Regions from separate parts of the Homo sapiens genome. Here all the other regions are linked to region 1. Evidence: promoter capture Hi-C in human tissues and cell types (Jung and others, 2019). All regions are on one chromosome and are shown on one strand. Each heading gives the region's core, a stretch centred on a gene start or on the middle of the fragment in contact. The rest is flanking DNA. Distances are from core to core; before and after follow the strand shown. Region 1 holds the start of CYP7A1 (cytochrome P450 family 7 subfamily A member 1). Region 2 has its middle 64 kb from the start of LINC03133. Region 3 has its middle 39 kb from the start of NSMAF.

The links. Contacts are between HindIII fragments. The study calls those that stand out against the background at their distance.
Region 2: a contact is called between a fragment that was not itself captured here and the fragment with the promoter of CYP7A1 in region 1, in 2 of the 25 tissues and cell types used here (aorta and ovary).
Region 3: a contact is called between a fragment that was not itself captured here and the fragment with the promoter of CYP7A1 in region 1, in 1 of the 25 tissues and cell types used here (hippocampus).

What each region holds. Positions count from the first base shown.
Region 1 is chr8:58,498,151-58,502,575 of GRCh38, forward strand. CYP7A1 (cytochrome P450 family 7 subfamily A member 1) reads right to left here and starts at 2,013. Exons shown (of 6, transcript NM_000780.4): 1 at 1,869-2,013; 2 at 79-319. The coding sequence starts at 1,948. RefSeq lists a silencer at 305-1,891, a promoter at 1,989-3,891 and an enhancer at 2,223-2,444. The HindIII fragment of the contact is 11,138 bases long and covers 1-4,425 here.
Region 2 is chr8:58,334,194-58,338,281 of GRCh38, forward strand. No RefSeq gene overlaps it. Among named protein-coding and RNA genes, the nearest start is that of LINC03133, 64 kb to the left of the region's middle. The HindIII fragment of the contact is 5,242 bases long and covers 1-4,088 here.
Region 3 is chr8:58,696,742-58,701,049 of GRCh38, forward strand. No RefSeq gene overlaps it. Among named protein-coding and RNA genes, the nearest start is that of NSMAF, 39 kb to the left of the region's middle. RefSeq lists an enhancer at 3,475-4,046. The HindIII fragment of the contact is 5,195 bases long and covers 1-4,257 here.

The DNA of each region.
Region 1 (4,425 bases), core at 763-3,262:
CATCAAAATTTCTAAATAGACAAGCACATAAAAAGGTAGAAGACAAACAGAATGGTATATAAATGTAAAACTGCTTACCTTCGCAGAAGTAGCAAAGTGAAATTTTTTCCAATCAAAATATTTTCCGTGGCACAACACCTTATGGTATGACAAGGGATTTGTGATGAAATGGACATATTTTCCCATTAGTTTGCAGGTAAAAACATGACCATGTTTCCTTTGATTTGCTCTGAGGAACTCAAGAGGATTGGCACCAAATTGCAGAGCACAGCCCAGGTATGGAATTAATCCATTCTCTAGAGGTGGTTCACCCGTTTGCCTGTCAGACACAAGTGTATGATAGACATGGATGATTACAGTTTTGGGTTTTTACTTACATCAGGTTTTAAAATTTTTCCCACTGACTTCAAACTTTGAAACCCTATAGTTTATAGATATTTCTTTTGTTGGATGGGCCCTGCTCTTTTACTACAGTAATAGGTTATATTAACCTAGTAACATGATATGTTGGTGGAAAGGATTACTAAATCCATCCATTCATGCATCCGTCCATATACACATTCAACAAGCACCCGTCTACTATGTGCTCATCACTTTTCCCAGTGATACAGGCAAAAGGATTTACAAGACCAACAAGATTCTTGTTGTCAGTGCGGAAACAAAACTACATTCTAGTGTTTATCACTTTGCTAAGCATCATTTTTCTAAATATCTCAAAATGTTTCTTTTGATTATTTTCTTTAAAGACACAGATCACTGAATAAGGGAGGATTTCAGAACTGAGGTTTTGAAAATATTCCTAGTTTAAAGATATCTATATTATATTCTATAAGGATGGTTTCAGAGAAGAAGAATCTCATGTGAGAAATCAGCTTATTATAAAATGAAATTGAGTAAGATAAACACTGACGGAATCATCTATTGTAATTCAGTGCTCCTTTAAAATGTTTTTATTAGAACATGTAAACTTATTTTCCAACATAAACTTCTGTACCTCTTGATAGAATAATACAGTATAAAGTAATTACCTTTCTTTTCTTAGTTTGAAGATAAGTAGTTTAATTAAAAGTAAAAACTATCAGGCCTGAAAGAAACTGCAAAAGGCAGAAAACACATAGCAATCTACAAAGCTGAAAGATGGTTAGGGTTATTTTCTCTTTTTGAGATTGACATAGCAGAGAATATCTATATGCCTCCCCACAATTACTCCTTGAGCCAATTAGAAGTTAAATAAACTATGGTTCTGGATCTGACTGTATTTGTTTTTCTTGCATTCTTGAACCAGTTGTAAATAAATGAAATCGATGTCACATACACTCAGCAAACTTTCCCAATTCACCACAGTTGATTAACATTTATTTAAAAACAGTAATAGAATGATCAGCTCAGGCTCTATGCTCTTGTTCAGGCTTAGGCTGAGTCTATGCGATGCACAAGAATGAGCTTAAAAGAGAACATTTATTTAACAAGAGTATCTATTGAAGCCATGTGAGAGAAAGCAATCCTTTCCATTGTAGATTCCCACTTGCTACTTGTATCCTTACTAATCTGGGCTTCCTCTTTAGATACACATATAAATGTACATAGAGACCTTATACAATTTCTGTCAGTTATGTTTAACACCAATATACATTTATATATTACCATCGGTATATGCCAATACTAAAAAGGGAAGCTGTCATATGTCTTGTGAGATATAGTAAAAAAGATATTACTTTAAAAATTCAAATCAAATTTTTCATTTAAAAAATAAGGAAGATAATGCTAATATGTGTAAGTATAGAAAACCAAATTTACTGTATAAAAATGAAGGTAAAAAAATTAAATGGATGAATCAAAGAGCAATTTAAAGATAAAACATTACTTACCTTCTCCTAATTCCAAGAATAAGCCATAGACAACAGCATGCTGCTATAGCAATCCCCCAAATCAAAGATGTGGTCATCATTTTGCAAATCTAGGCCAAAATCTCTGAGGAAGAAAATCTCTGATTAGAAAGGGAAGGATGCCACTGAAAAGAGACTCAAGCTAGGCTTTTTATATACATAGTATCCAGATCCATTAACTTGAGCTTGGTTGACAAAGCAAACAATTAGCCATTTGTTCATTCTATTAGAAAAAAAAAAGTGGTAGTAACTGGCCTTGAACTAAGTCCACAGGTATCAGAAGTGGTTCCAAAGCAATCAGAGACCTGCAATACTTGATAAGTTGAAGGTCTCTCAAATATATGTTGACTTAACATTCGGACCTGGGGACAACAGCTAATATTAAGAGTTTGGTATGTGTAAAAAGAACAAATAAACCTGTTTAAGATGGGCATAGCTAATAAATACATAAACTATAATCATTTAAAGAAAGATAAGAATGAGTTATTCATCAAGCTTATAATTTGGTCTTGTTAACTTTTAAAGAAGAATTAATTTAGGTGCTTTGCCAGAGAGACGGTGATCAAGTTCAGAGGAAAGAGAACTGGGAAAAACATTTCTGCTGCTTCATGTTTCAGTGCTTTTATAAAATCATAGATATTTTACTACATATAGTAACATGTTACTCACCTAACATCCTCAAGAGAGTATTCTACATAAGTGCATCCTCTAGATAAATATAACTTATTGGAAGCATCAAAATTTTATCTATCATTCTTGTGACTAAAATGTTTATCAATGTTTCTAATTATTAAAGTAATAAATTTCATTTCAAGTAAGTTAAGACTAACTAAAACATATCTTGGTGGAAAGTGAACATCTATTAATAATTTACCTACCATGCTACTCCTTTACTCAGAAGTAACCACTAGTAACAATTTGGCATCTGTTCTTCCAAACTTTATTTCTGTGTACACAAAAATATTAGTTGAGTATTTATTACGTGCCAAGAACTCTTCAAAAGTATTCCAGTTGCAGGCATTAATAAGATAGGCAGATTTCCTAATCTAATGGAGATTCTATTCCAATGGAGAAAGGAGTAATAAAATACATGTTATGAAAAAAATAAAACATGGTATAGAAAGCTATGGGGGAATGAGGACAACTTTAGATATGATGATCAGAGATGGGCTCTCTGAAATTGTGACATTTGAGATCTGAATGACAAGAAGAGACTACTCATGTGAATATCAGAAGGAAGGATATTCCAGGAAGAGGAAGCAGCAAATGCAATGTCTTGAGTCAAGGATCAACTTGGTGAGTCTAAGAACCAAAAAGAAGGATGTATCCTACTGAAGCAGAGTGAATGAGAGTTCACAGAATTAAGACAAAAGAAGGTAGGCAACAGTACTGTGTGTGTATATATATGTATATAAACACACACACACATACACCCACAGTATTCTCTATATTTATACATGTGTGTATCTATATGTGTGTATAAATAATTATATTGAATATGTGCTTAATCTTCCATTGGATAAATGTACTATAATTTATTTAACTGATTTCCTATTGATGGATATGTGGGTTGTTTCCAGTTTTGGCTATAGATGCCATAGATTTATTTCATGTGTTTTTTGTTTTTGCCTGTTTAAACAGAGATCACACATTTTTTGTGTGTAATTTATCACCATAAATATTAATATCAATCATTGTATGGCAGTACATAGATTTTTCTTAGAATCTAGGTTTTTGGGGGGCTTTGTGCATTTATTTAGACAGGTGGATTTTTAAAAAATTAATATATCTTTTTAAAAATATGGCTTATAGAAAAGCTGATCTTATACATGGACAATCACAGCAAGATATCCCAGTCAGATAAAATGCCAATCTAATATCCAAATAATACAGCCCTTTAGAGTTACTTCTCGGGCAAATGAAGAACAAGCAAATATACAAAAATGGAAAGGAAGTCAGGCATGGTAGTGTGACATGGTTTGGCTGTGTCCCCATCCAAATCTCATCTTGAATTCTCACGTGTTGTGGGAGGAACCTGGTAGGAGGTGACTGAATTATGGGTGCAGTTCTTTCCTGTGCTATTGTCATGATAATGAATAAATTTCATGAGATCTGATGGTTTTAAAAAGAGGAGTTTCCCTGCACAAGCTCTTTTCTTGTCTGCTGCCATGTGAGATGTGCCTTTCTCCTTCCATCATGATTGTGAGGCCTCCCAAGTGATGTAGAATTGTAAGTCCAATAAACCTCTTTCTTTTGTAAATTGTCCAGTTTCAGGTATGTCTTTATCAGCAGCATGAAAATCGACTAATACAGTAAACTGGTACCAGTAGAGTGGGGCACGGCTGAAAAGATAACCAAAAATGTGGAAGCGACTTTGGAACTGGGTAACAGGTAGGGATTGGAACAGTTTGGAGGGCTCAGAAGAAGACAGGAGAATGTGAGCAAGTTTGGAACTCCCTAGAGGCCTGTTGAATGACTTTGACCAAAATGCTGATAATGATATGGACAACGAAATCTAGGCGGGGGTGGTTTCAGATGG
Region 2 (4,088 bases), core at 247-2,746, 160 kb before region 1:
AGATCATTGAGACAGAAAATTAACAAAGATATTCAGGACTTGAGCTCAGACCAAGTGGACCTGATAGATATCTACAGAACTCTCCACCTAAAACAACAGATTTTTTTGGTGCCACATGGCACTTACCCTAAAATTGATCACATAATTGGAAGTAAAACACTCTTCAGCAGATGCAAAAATTAAAAAACTGGAATCATAAGATTCCAGTTGTGGTCTCTCAGACCACAACACAATCAAATTAGAACTCAAGATTTAAAAGCCCACTCAAAACCACACAGCTACATGAAATTGAACAAACTGCTCCTGAATGACCCCTGGGTAAATAATGAAATTAAGGCAGAAATCGAGAAGTTCTTTGAAACCAATGAGAACAAAGAGACAATGTATCAGAATCTCTAGGATGCAGCTGAAACTGTGTTAAGAGGGAAATTTATTACACTAAATGCCCACATCAAAAAGCTAGAAAAATCTCAAATAGACACCCTAATATCACAACTAAAAGAACTAGAGAACCAAGAGCAAACAAACCCCAGAGCTAGGAGAAGACAGGAAATAATTTCAGAGAGGAAATGAAGGACATAGAAACAAAAAAAACTTCAAAAAATCAACAAATCCACAAACTTTTTTTAAATCAATAGGGAAAATAGACTGCTAGCAAGACTAATAAAGAAGGCAAGAGAGAAGATTCAAATAAACACAATCAGAAATGGTAAGGGGGATAACACCACTGACCCAAAGAAATACAAACAACCCTCAGAGAATACTATATACAACTCTATGCAAATAAACTGGAAAATCTAGAAGAAATAGATAAATTCCTGGACACATACACCCTTCCAAGACTGAACCAGAAAGAAGCTGAATCCCTGAATAGAACAATAACAAATTCTGAAATTGAGGCAGTAATTTCAGGTCCAGAGGGATTTATAGCTGAATTCTAACAGAGATACAAAGCAAAGTTGGTACCATTTCTTCTGAAACTATTCCAAACAATTAAAAAGGAGAGACTCCTCCCTAACTCATTATATGAGGTCAGCGTCATCCTGATACCAAAACCTGCCAGAGTTACAACCAAAAAAGAAAACTTTGGGCCAATATTCATAATGAACATAGATGGAAAAATCCTCAATAAAATACTAGCAAATGGAGTCCAGCAGCACATCAAAAAGCTTATTCACCATGATCAGGTCGGCTTCATCCCTGGGATGCAAGGCAGGTTCAACAGATGCAAATCAATAAACATAATTCATCAAATAAACAGAACTAGAGACAAAAACCACATAATTATCTCAATAGATGCAGAAAAGACCTTTGATAAAATGCAACATCCCTGCATGTTAAAAACTCTTAATAAACTAGGCATTGAAGGAACATACCTCAAAATAATAAGAGCCATTTATGACAGATCCACAGCCAATATCATACTGAATGGGCAAAAGCTGCAGGCATTCCCTTGAAAACTGGCACAAGACCAGGATGCTCTCTCTCACCACTCTTATTCAACATAGTGTTGAAAGTTCTGGCCAGGGCAATTAGGCAAGAGAAAGAAATATAGGATATTCGAATGGGAAGAGAGGAAGTCAAATTGTCTTTGTTTGCAGATGACATGATTCTGTATCTAGAAAACCACATTGTCTCAGCCCAAAAGCTTCTAAAGCTGATAAGCAAATTTAGCAAAGTCTCAGGATACAAAGTCAATGTGCGAAAGTCACAAGCATTCCTATACACCAACAACAGGCAAGCAGAAATCCAAATCATGAATGAACTCCCATTCACAATTGCCACAAAGAGAATAAAATACCTAGGAATAGAGCTAACAAGGAAAGTGAAGGACCTCTTCAAAGAGAACTACAAACCACTGCTCAAGGAAATCAGAGAGAACACAAACAAATGGAAAAACATTCCATCTGCTCATGGATAGAAAGAATCAGTATAGTGAAAATAACTATACTGCCCAAAGCAATTTATAGATTCAATGCTCTTCCCATTAAACTACCACTGACATTCTTCACAGAATTAGAAAAAAATATTTTAAAATTCATATGGAACCAAAAAAGAGCTCACATAGCCAAGACAATCCTAAGCAAAAAGAACAAAACTAGGCGATGGGTTGATATGTGCAGCAAACCACCATGGCACACGTTTACCTATGTGACAAACCTGCACATCCTGCACATATACCCCAAAACTTTAAATAATTAATTAATTTAAAAAGAGAAAGTCTTAAAAGAAAAAAAAGAAAAGAAACCCATCCCCAACTTACAGATGAGCCTCGGAGAGATTAATTGACTTGACTGTGATCACCTGACTCATCAGAGCCTGAGCAGTTTTGACAGCACAATTACTGACATCAGAGCCTTTGCAGTTTATAGATTTGTCTTCATTCCTAACTTTCTTCATATTCCCCTTCCTTCTTTGGAAAGGGTTCCTATGAATATGACCTGCCAAATAAACAGATTGTAAATATAATCAGTTAGGTTTCAGCAAAAAGGGAAAAGACTGTCACTTGGACATTGAAATCAGGCTAAAAATTCAACTATGGAATTACCTTATGTCATTCTAATAAGACTCCTTCTGCTAAACTTAGCCACAAGTGGCCACCCAAAACCCCTTGGGAAGAAATGAGCCAGAGACACAGAATTATAATTTGCTGTATTACAGAATATCAGTTTTGCCAACTGGCTCTCTAATGTGAGCTCTGTTTGTCAAAAAAAAATGAATTCAGTATGACAGAAGTGTTTTCTGTCGCTTGCACGCTGGCCAAGAGTCGATCAACTCTGCTTGCCAAACAGAATGCCTCTGACAAGGTCATCAGCAAAGTCACTCTTAAGTGATTGGGCACAGACAATTATTATATAAGCACTCGTGGCTCTGTGTGGAAATGTACACTGATCAATCTTAGAGACAGAAATTTCATGGATATAAAAAGAAAATAATCTACTGCATTCACGCTGTTGAGCAATTAATTTATTGCCAACAGGATACAGTTTATTACCAACAGAATATAGACTATGCTTGAAGAAGACAAGAATTGCATGTTAATTTCTTGCTACTGACTAAACTTTGATTATTCTGTCTTAGGGACTCAAACTAATGATCACACAACTGTGCTCTGAATTAATACAGGTAAAAAATGGTCACACATTTTCTTGAGTCAAATGATAGCTCTTCAAGCAAGAGAATAGATATGTAATTAATTTGTAAATAGTTGTGATTCAAGTCTAAGAATATCATTTGCTCATCATGAGAGTTAAAGCTCTCAAGGCAAAAATAATCACTTGCATTATATTATTACACACATCACAAGTTGGGGAGGTACAGTGACATGGCAATTACTCAATAGTTCAGCACAGTTGACTGAGAGCACTTTTAGGAAATGCTTGGCTGCAGAAAAAATGCCAGCTTTTAAAGTTCACTTTAGGGAAAAATAATGATCTTTTGGTATCTGTCTGGCTCCATTCTTCCAGTTCACTAACTTCTATTACTCAAGAGAATTCTTAAAATAGTCAGTGTCTACTTATTCTTGGAGACATGTAAGAAGAGTCTAGGACTAAATAACTTCGGTGTTTCTTCTTCCTCTTATTCTCAAAATATGGCTTTCCTAAAAGCAAGGTGGAAAGTTGGTGATTACTTGTTAAACTGGTGCTGTAAAAACAAAAATTTAGAAAAAAAAAGGATTAGTATGACATTTTACACACAATTTATTCTTTCAATAGCTTCATTGGGAAAAATTTACATACTACAAAACTCATCTATTGTAAGTGTAGAAGTCAGTAATTTTTAGTAAATTTGGAAGTTTGTGCAATTATCACCACAATCTAGCTTTCAAGCACTTCTATCACCCCCCAAAACTTCCCTCCCTTCCATTTGCAGTCAGTTCCATTCCTATCCTCTCTCCCATGTAACTATGGATCTACTTTCTCTACATAGACTTACTTTTTTATGGGAAATTCATAAATATGTAATCTAAGATATATAGTCTTTTGTGTCTAGATTCCTTTACTTGGTATAATATTTTTGAAGTTCACCCATATTGCAGCATGTGAAAGTAGTTCTTTCCTTTTTATTTGCTGAATAGTATTCCACTA
Region 3 (4,308 bases), core at 410-2,909, 200 kb after region 1:
TAAGTTAGGAATAAGGTGTGGTTCTCTTAATTAGAAAAGAGGCTATATGGCAGAAAATAAGTACATCTGTCATAAATTAGGAGTGTGTGGAAATAAATGTAAGTACTGGTCTTGTGTCATTAGGCCACTTGGATTAAAAAAAAATGAAAAGGATCCAGCCCACCTTCAGAAAGGAAAAAAATGGCCCTTCCTTTACTAAGGAACAATGTAACCCCTTACAGCTAGTAATAACCAATACCCTTGACCCTCGCTGGAAAAAAGAGGAGCTTGTGACCTTAGGAATCAACGGGGCTGGACTGGATCCTTGAGTAAATATCTTAGTTTGAGGAGAAGTTTACAAACGCTCTCCTGAGCCAGTATTTCAAACTTCCTATGATGAACTAAATGTGCCAGTACCAGAAATTCTAGGAAAAACAAGAAATTCGTTTTTGCAATTAGCTGAGCATGTAGCCCAGTCTCTCAATGTCACTTCATGTTATGTACGTGGAGGAACTGTAATAGGAGATCAATGGCCATGAGAAGCCTGAGAGTTAGTACCTACAGACCCAGTTCCTGATGAATTCCCAGCTCAAAAGAATCACCCTGATAATTTCTGGGTCCTAAAAGCCTCAATTATTGGACAATACTGCATAGCTAGAGAAGGAAAATAATTCGTGCACCCCGTAGGAAGACTTAGTTGTCTGGGACAGAAAGTGTATAATGGTACCACAAAAGCAGTCACTTGGTGGAGTTCAAATCACACACAGAGAAATCCATTCAGTCGATTCCCAAAGTTGCAAACTGTGTGGACCCACCCGGAGTCCCACCGGGACTGGACAGCCCCCACTGGATTGTACTGGATATATAGGCATAGAGCTTACGCCAAATTACCTGACCGATAGGCAGGCAGTTTTGTTATTGGCACTATTAAACCATCTTTCTTCCTACTGCCCATAAAAACAGGCGAACTCCTGGGCTCCCCTGTCTATGCTTCCTGCGAAAAGAGAAGCATAGCTATAGGAAATTTTAAAAAATGATAAATGGCCCCCTGAGAAAATCACACAATATTATGGACCTGCTACTTAGGCACAAGATGGCTCATGGGGATACCAGACCCCCATTTACATGATCAACCAAATCATACGGTTACAAGCTGTCTTAAAAATAATCACTAATAAAACCTGCAGAGCCTTGACTATTCTGGCCTGGCAAGAAATTCAGATGAGAAATGCTATCTATCAAAATAGATTAGCTCTAGACTACTTGCTAGCAGCTGAAGGAGAGGCCTGTAGGAAATTTAACCTTACTAATTGCTGCCTACATATAGATAATCAAGGGCAAGTAGTTGAGGACATAGTTAGAGATATGACAAAAGTGGCACATGTGCCTGTGCAAGTGTGGCATGGATTTGATCCTGGAGCCATGTTTAGAAAATGGTTCCCAGCACTAGGAGAATTTAAAACTCTTATAATAACAGTTATAATAGTAATAGGAACCGCTTACTTCTCCCTTGTTTGCTACCTGTACTTCTTCAAATGATAAAAAGCTTCATCACTACCTTAGTTCACCAAAATGCTTCAGCACAAGTGTACTATATGAATCACTATCAATCTGTCTTGCAAGAAGACATGGGTAGTAAGAATGAAAGTGAGAACTCGCACTATTGAGTGAGAGTCTCAAAGGGGGGGAATAAGGGAGGAGACCACCCCTCATATTGTCTTATGCCTAATTTCTGCCTCCAAAAAAAGAAAAAGTAAAAAACTAAAAGGCAGAAATGAAATCCACAAGCAGACAGCCGGGCACCATACCCTGGGCCTGGTAGTTAAAGATCGACCCTGACCTAATTGGTTATGTTATCTATAGATTACAGACATTGTATAGAAAAGCACTGTGAAAATCCCTATCCTGTTTTGTTTTGATCTAATTACCGGTGCATGCAGCCCCCAGTCACATACCCCCTGCTTGCTCAGTCGATCACGACCCTCTGACGTGCACCCCCTTAGAGTTGTTAGCCCTTTAAAGGGACAGGAATTGCTCACTTGGGGAGCTCGGCTCTTGAGACAGGAGTCTTGCCGATGCTCCTGGCCGAATAAACCCCTTCCTTCTTTAACTCGGTGTCTGAGGAGTTTTGTCTGTGGCTCATCCTGCTACATTCATAAATGGATTTTTCATGAAAAATGGCCAAATAAGATATATGTGCCTGTTGGTCAAGTTTATCACTATAAAAATGAAACCACTGAAAGAGCACAGTGTCTGGAAAATGATTTTTTGTTTGCACATCATTCGACAGATGCTAGAAGATGACTTTGACTGAACGATATCATTTTCAGAAAGCTTTATCATTAGTGACTAAAAAGTCACACCAACTGTATTGGTGGTATATTTCATCCCTTACCCCATTTATCATAACAACCTGTTTTTACAGTAAATGATATATGTGGACAAATACATATAATATGAATATTTCAAACTTCAGGGTTTTGCAGGGATAAATTTTTAGTAAATGGAAGTAGATATACCTTGACATTTACAGAAAAGGGCACAAGAAGTCTATATACGGAGGAAGGAGTTTTGAATAGTGATATTCACTTTAAACTCATTCATTGTATAGTTATTGAGTACACGCTGAGTCCTTGTCAGACTTAGGTACAGAGTTGAGAAAGATAGACTTGCTTTTTATTGACAGACAGCCTACATTCTAGAGAAGAGGCAGAGAGAAACACAAGTTACATAGTGAATTATTTAATTACACTTGTTGTCACTGCTATGAAGACGAAGTCCAGAGCACCACGAGATTATGTAATGTGACTGAGATAGTGCATGTGTGAAACACTCAGATGCTCCTTCACTGGGGAAATGAAATGATTTGATTGGTGAAGAAATTATTCTCTAAGGAAATGCAGTTGCAATTGAGACCTGAAAGATTAACTAATTGTCAAGCATGATGAAGGAAGAGCCTGAGGCAGGAAGGAGCCTGGTAAAATGAAGTGGAGAGTCTGGGGCCTCCGGAGTGCAGACTCACTGGAAGGCGCTTAGAGGTATGGCGGAGGGCCCTGGCCTCATGTTTGCCAGAGCCTCAAATTTAGATCTTTTAACATTTATTTTTATTTATTTATTTTTTTAGAGACACTGTCTTGCTCTGTCACCCAGGCTGGAGCACAGTGGCATGATCACGGCTAGCTGCAACCTCGACCTCCTGGGTTTGAGTGATCTTCCTGCCTCGGCTTCCTGTGTAGCTGGGACTACAGGCACGCACCATCATGCCTGACTAATTTTTAAGTTTTGGTAGAAACAGGGTCTTGCTATGTTGCCCAGGCTGGTCTACAACTCCTGGCCTGAAGTGATCCTCCTACTTTGGTCTCCTAAAGTGCTGGGATTACAGATGTCAGCCACTGCACCCAGACTTACTTAAACTCTTGACTGATCTCCAGTTGAGGTTGTATATACAGTCATTGCCTGTTTAATTTTTAAAGCATTAATTTATTAAATAAATATTTTAAAATATATAACATTTTTTGATTCTCTGTTTTGGCATTTTTATGTTTATCTCTTTGTTGTTGTTTCCTATCAGAGGTATCAGAAATTCTATGTGGCTCAGGCCCCTCTCACCTCAGAGGAGCTCCGCCAGGGCTAGATGGGCATGAGGTCACACAGGGTCTTGTTGGCTGTGTGAAGGATTCTGATTCATTTCTCCAGGGCGGTAGGAGCCTTAGCGGGGCTTCAGTCCATACCTGAGGAATACTGTGCCTGTTTGTTCCCTTTTATCACCTCCTTTATTCCTGTTGATCACTCCTTTGATCTCACCACTCCCTGGTGAGGAAGGTATTTCTAGCTTTATTTTACAAATGGGAAAACCAAGGCTAAGAGGCTAAAGAACATCCCCAGGTCACACTGCTAGGCAAAGGTCACAACACTCAGGCCCTCTCCGCTGCCTCATAGCCACTTCATTGCGTGGTGGATTTGAAGACATCTGAACAACCCTGGGAAGGAAGGAAAGAAGGGAGTGCTTTGGACTGAATTGTGTCAGCCCCCAGCCCCCCCAAAATTCATATGTTCAAACCCCAACCCCCTATGCCTCAGAATGAGACTGTATTTAGAGATAGGGTCTTTACAGAGATGATTAAGATAAAATGAAGTCACATGGGTCAGCCCTAATCCAACGTAACTGGTGTCCTTGCAAGAAGAGGACATTGAGACTTAGACAAATATGAACAAGAGGGAAGACCATGTGGAGACACAAGGAGAAGATGGTCACCTACAGGCAAGGTGAGAGGTCTCAGAAGGAACCAACCCTGCCAACACCATGATTTTGGACTTCCAGCCTCCAGA